Regions from separate parts of the Homo sapiens genome. Here region 1 is linked to region 2. The links are contacts of gene promoters, found by promoter capture Hi-C in blood cells and fetal thymus (Javierre and others, 2016). All regions are on one chromosome and are shown on one strand. The core of a region is centred on a gene start or on the middle of the fragment in contact, and the rest is flanking DNA. Distances in the headings are between cores, read along the strand shown.

Evidence for each region. The method cuts DNA at HindIII sites, captures the fragments that hold promoters and counts their contacts. A CHiCAGO score of 5 or more calls a contact.
Region 1: a contact is called between a fragment that was not itself captured here and the fragment with the promoter of ZNF433 in region 2, in 1 of 17 cell types (total CD4 T cells). The highest score is 5.3, in total CD4 T cells.

Annotation. Positions count from the first base shown.
Region 1 is chr19:9,461,250-9,463,955 of GRCh38, forward strand. LOC105372269 (a long non-coding RNA gene) reads left to right here. Exons shown (of 3, transcript XR_007067133.1): 3 at 777-1,280. It also overlaps a transcript of ZNF560 not described here. Among named protein-coding and RNA genes, the nearest start is that of ZNF266, 27 kb to the left of the region's middle. The HindIII fragment of the contact is 2,631 bases long and covers 129-2,706 here.
Region 2 is chr19:12,034,271-12,036,970 of GRCh38, forward strand. ZNF433 (zinc finger protein 433) reads right to left here and starts at 1,409. Exons shown (of 4, transcript NM_001308348.2): 1 at 1,267-1,409. The coding sequence starts at 1,269. ZNF433-AS1 (ZNF433 and ZNF878 antisense RNA 1) reads left to right here. Exons shown (of 3, transcript NR_134929.1): 2 at 1,284-1,502. RefSeq lists silencers at 944-1,063, 1,074-1,123, 1,364-1,523. The HindIII fragment of the contact is 7,472 bases long and covers 455-2,700 here.

The DNA of each region.
Region 1 (2,706 bases), core at 194-2,693, 2.6 Mb before region 2:
TTGACACCCCTAATTATCATGTAACTTGCCAGGAAGGTAGATTGTCCTCTTGTGTGAACTCTTCCTTGTTTAATACTAATCATTCTATACTAGCAGTGAGAGCTCAAGAAGGAGTTGGTTACCGGCGAAGCTTTCCCATCCTTGGGAACCCTCTCCCTCTGTACATATTATTACTAAATTCTTCAGAAAATTCTAAGAAGTTCTCAGTGTTTCATTGCTACTTTAATCTTGATTATTATGGGACTGATTGCTGTCACAGCTACTGCTGCAGTAGCTGGAGTGGCACTACATTCATCAGTGCAGACAGCAGATTTTGTAAATAATGGCAAAAGAATTCTACTCTGCTGTGGAACTCTCAAACTAAAATAGACCAAAAGATAGTTAATCAAATCAATGATCTCCAACCAACTGTAATGTGGGTGGGAGATCAAGTAGCTAGTTTGGAATATGGAATGCAGCTGAAATGCGACTGGAATACTTCTGACTTTTGTATCACTCCTCACCCTTATAATGAATTAGACCATGAATGGGAAAGAATAAAAAAAAGTATCTGGAAGGACACTCTACAAACTTGTCTTCGGATGTTGCAAAATTAAGAGAACAAATATTTCAAGCATCCCAGGCACACCTGACCTTAATGCCAGGAACTGGAGTGCTTGAAGGAGTTGCAGATGGATTGGCAGCCATAAATCCTATGAAATGCATAAAAACACTTGGAGGCTCTGTGATTTCTATGATGGTTGTGCTATTAATCTGTGTTGTTTGTCTTTGTGTAGTCTGCAGATGCGGATCCTGACTCCTGCAAGAAGTAGCTCACTGTGATAAAGCCGCCTTTGCTTTTATTGCCCTGGTAAAACAAAAAGGGGGACATGCTGGGAATAGGCCCCAAGCCTGGCCATAAACAAGCCATAAGAAAAGTCATAAACAAGATCTCTGCAGCACTGTGACATGCTCGTGATGGTTATGATGCACACACTGGAGGTTGCTGGTTCACCAGAATGAGGGCAAGGAACACCTGGCCCACCCAGGGCGGAAAACTGCTCAAGGTGTTCCTAAACCACAAACAATGGCATAAGCAATCTGTGCCTTAATGACATGCTCCTGCTGCAGATAACAAGCCAGAGCCTGTCCCTTTGTTCTCCTTAAAGAATACTTTCAGTTAATCTACAAACTACAGAAACGATGTTTATCACAGGCTGTCAATAAATAGGTGGGTCAAACTCTGTTCGAGGCTCTCAGCTCTGAAGGCTGTTAGCCCCCTGATCCCACTTTGCACTCTATTTCTGTCTATGTCTTTATTCCTCTAGTGCTGCTGGATTGTGGTCTCCATGACCGACCTGGTCTTGGCAAATATTACATGCCAATGTTAATAATATTTTTAAAAAATCTTTACACTATAGGTATATAAAATATTCTAGCAAAAAAAAAAGTTAATCCATTATACTCAAACTGCATTTTTCTGGAATTACAAAGATAATATAACATTGGAATGTCAATCAGTTATCTTTCCACATTTTAAAAAAACTTTTATTTACTTACACATTTAAATATTAGGTATCTATCAAGGGCAAGTACAGTCAGTCCTAGGTACCTGAATTTTCTGAGTAAGGCAAGATCATCAAAGAGGAATCAGGGAAAAGCATTCAATAAATTCTTAAGCCATTCATGGGAAAGATTCCCTAAGCAATGAAAAGTAGAAAAAAACCTTGACCTTTTAAAAATCTACAGCAACCAATACAGTGATTAGTAATGATGGAAAACATCTGCCATTAGGATTAGAAATAAAAGTATGCTTGTTTTACTACTTCTAGTTATTATTCTAGTATTTTCTGCCTAGACAAGACATAAATGACTGAAGGTTACAAGTTAAGTCAGTTACAGATAATATGAAATGTGGAAAACCCAAAATACATAAAACTAGGATGTTAAAGAATGTTGAACAAGGCTTCTAGTAAAATTCAGTATACAAAGATCAAGTGATTTTATATAAACAATCAGAAATCAGCTTCTAAAAAAAATAAAAAAGGAAATCAGCTTCTGAAGCTAGGCAATTTCTAGGCTGTGAGACTAGGGTATCATTTCTTAGTGATACATCACTATTAGTCCAAGCACCAGGATGAGGCCAACCTACAGTATTGACCTCACCTGTGACCCACAAGTGCTCATACTCCAACAACTGTGAAAAAGTTTCAGGAATAACCTATAGGTTTTATTTGAGACAATCAGGATGGCATCTAAGGACAGTCTGTGAGGTGACAGAAGTCACACAAGGCAATTAAGACTAATCTGCGTCTTTTGTGTCACTGGTAACAGTTAAACGCAACAAAGATGGGTTAAAATAATCACACTCATACCACAAGAGAACCACTCTGAAACCCTTTCCTCTCCATAAGAAAACATGTAACATGAAAATGCATGGACCTCAATTCAGTTTTTTTGGTTTTGTTTTGTTTTTGAGACAAGGCCTCTGTCACCCAGGTTGGAGTCCAATGGCACGATCTGAGCTCACTGCAGCCATGACCTCCCTGGGGTCAGTGAGACACCTATCTCAGCCTCCTGAGTAGGTTGGACTACAGGCACGTGCCATCACACCAGGCTAATCTTTACATTTTTTGTAGAGATAGGGTTTTGCCATGTTGCCCGGGCTGGTCTTGAACTCCTGAGCCCAAGTGATCCGCCTGACTTGGCCTCCCGAAGTGCTGGGAT
Region 2 (2,700 bases), core at 159-2,658:
TGTGAAAATAAGTAATTCAAAAATTGAAGCTGTTGGAACTCTAAATTATCTTGAAGTTTAAAGTAATGTGACTCTGGAATTGAGTCACCTGACACTGGAAAGAGCCAGCTGGAACCCTCCCACACTTGACTACAGATTAACCATCAGACAGGCTTCACTATACCTGGACAGGCCTCATTATACCCGCTTCCTTTAGGAGTTTCCACATAGCCACTGACCCACCTTCATGTTAAAACAGACATCAGCCAACTGGAAACACAGACTCTCTGTGACAATAAGAAACCAAATTACAAACAAGACCTAAGGCCATGCAAGGCAAGAGGTAAGTCAAATCTTAGAATTCACAAAATCTAAAGAAACAGGTCTTTTGTTTTGGGTGGGATGAAATCATATGACAGATACCAGACCCTCTTCACTTAAGCAATCCTTCCTACCGCCTCGAAGTTTTAGACAAAGCTTCACACTCTCCACCAACGGCCACCTTCAGAATCCCTCAACCACCTGCACCTTCTAACCCCCCTTCCACAGGTCCCGCCCTTTCTGCCAAAGGAACTTACACCTTTCCAGGCATTGATGCATGATTCTCCCTGCAATTCCTGTCTCCCTGAAATGAATAAAAACAGTCTTGAGCCGCCTCGGGACCACTTACTTCAGGCCTCCTGGGGTTGTGTTTTCCTCAGCTGAGGCCTCTCCTATTCGGCTCTGAATAAACTTCTTTAAGTTATTTTACACAGCTTGGCATTTTCCGTTAACAAATTACAAGCCAGGACTGGGTGTTTATCATTCAGGAATCTCAAAGGAACTCTAATTATTAATATATTTTTTAAAACCTATTCTGAGAAGCAAAACTATAATTGTTAACGTGTCTCAGTTTAATTTTTAAGAGGAGAAAGGCGCTACTGGGGACCCCACAGCCCACCCTCCTCCTACACAAACCCCCACACCCGAGGCGGGATCCCCCCATGACCCTCGCGTAGTCCCCGCACAATGTGGGGAGACGCGGGGCAGCGGGCGCGGAGCTGCCCAGAGAGGGCTCTGGGAACTGGGTGACAGTCACCGCGCAGGGACAGGACGAGACGCCCGGGTCCCGGCGGCCGGCCCAGCCCCACTGTGGGGCCAAGGGGACCAAGGGCCGAGCTGTCCCACGGGAAATCGGGTCCCAGACCCCGGAGTCGCCGCGGGGAGGCCCGGGTCCCACCACAGCCGGTTCCGGCCGGTTCCAACCAGCTCCTCCCCCGCCTCGGGACCCCTGGCCCGCACGCTCACCATTTCTTGCCTTTCAGGTGACTCCCACGACCAGTGCGGGTCACAGCACAGGCGACAGAAGCTATGGCAGAGGCACCTGAACCCTCTCGGAGGGGAAAGCCAGGCTCCCAACCTCAGCTCGCCGCCTGGAGCCGGGAACCGAGGAGAGCAGGGCCTTCGCCCTCCCCGATGGACACTCGGCAGGCCCCGCCCAGCGCCCCTGATTGGACGAAGCGCCGGGCCCCGCCCCCTCAGCCGTGAGTGACAATAGAAGCCCTTGGTAACGGGGCTCTGAAAACGGGTTTGACCGGATCCAGCGATAGATTCTTTAAGCCAGAGGTCTGTAACCTTTTTAGCACCAGAACCGGTTTCGTGGAAGACAGTTCTCCTACGGGGGCAGATAGTTTCGGAATGAAACTTCCACCTCAGATCAGGCATTTTATCCTCATAAGGCGAACCCAACCTAGATCCCTCGCATGTGCAGCTCACAATAGGGTTCGGGCTCCTATGACAGACTAATGCCTCTGCTGATCTGACAGGAAGCATATCTCTGGCGATAATGCCCGCTGGCTCGCCCGCCAGCCGCTCACCTCCTGCTGTGCGGACTGGTTCCTTACAGGCCATGGACCGGGGGTTGGGGACCCCTGCCATAGAGTACTGTTGAATAGAAACTTTAGCTCGTCCGGCGGTGGGCTGGGGGGGTGGGGGTAGCTCATGCCTGTAACCCCACCACTTTGGGAAGCCAAGGCAGGCAGATTGCTTGAGCCTAGGAACTTAAGCCCAGCCTGGGTAACATAGCAAAACCCCGCCTCTACAAAAAATACAAAAATTAGTCGGGCGTGGTGGTACATGTTTGCAGTCCCAGCTACTCGGAAGGCTGAAATGAGAGGATCGCCTGAGCCCAGAGAGGTCGAGGCCACAGTGAGCTGTGATTTTACCAGCCTGGATGTCAGAGTGAGACCCTGTCTCCGAAAAAAAAAAAAAAAAAAAAGACAGGGAATTGCAGTGGAGTTTAATATACATAGAGCCGGCTAAATGAAAGAGAAGAGTTTTATTTTTATTCAATTCTGTCTCCCTAAAAAATGGGAGGCTAGGTTTTGTTTTTTTGGTTTTTTTTTGAGACGGAATCTCTCTGTCGCCCATGCTGGAGTGCAGTGGCGCAATCTCGGCTCAGTGCAACCTCCGCCTCCCGGGTTCAAGCGATTCTCCTGCCTCAACCTCCTGAGTAGCTGGGATTACAGGCATGCGCCACCATGCCCGGCTAATTTTTGTATTTTTAGTAGAGACGGGGTTTACCATGTTGGTCAGGCTGGTCTCAAACTCCTGACCTCATGATCCACCCGCCTCGGCCTCCCAAAGTGCTGGGATTACAGGCCTGAGCCCCCGCACCCGGCCGAGGCTAGGGTTTTAAAGATAATTTGGTGAGCAGAAGGCTGGAAAATGGGGAATGCTGAT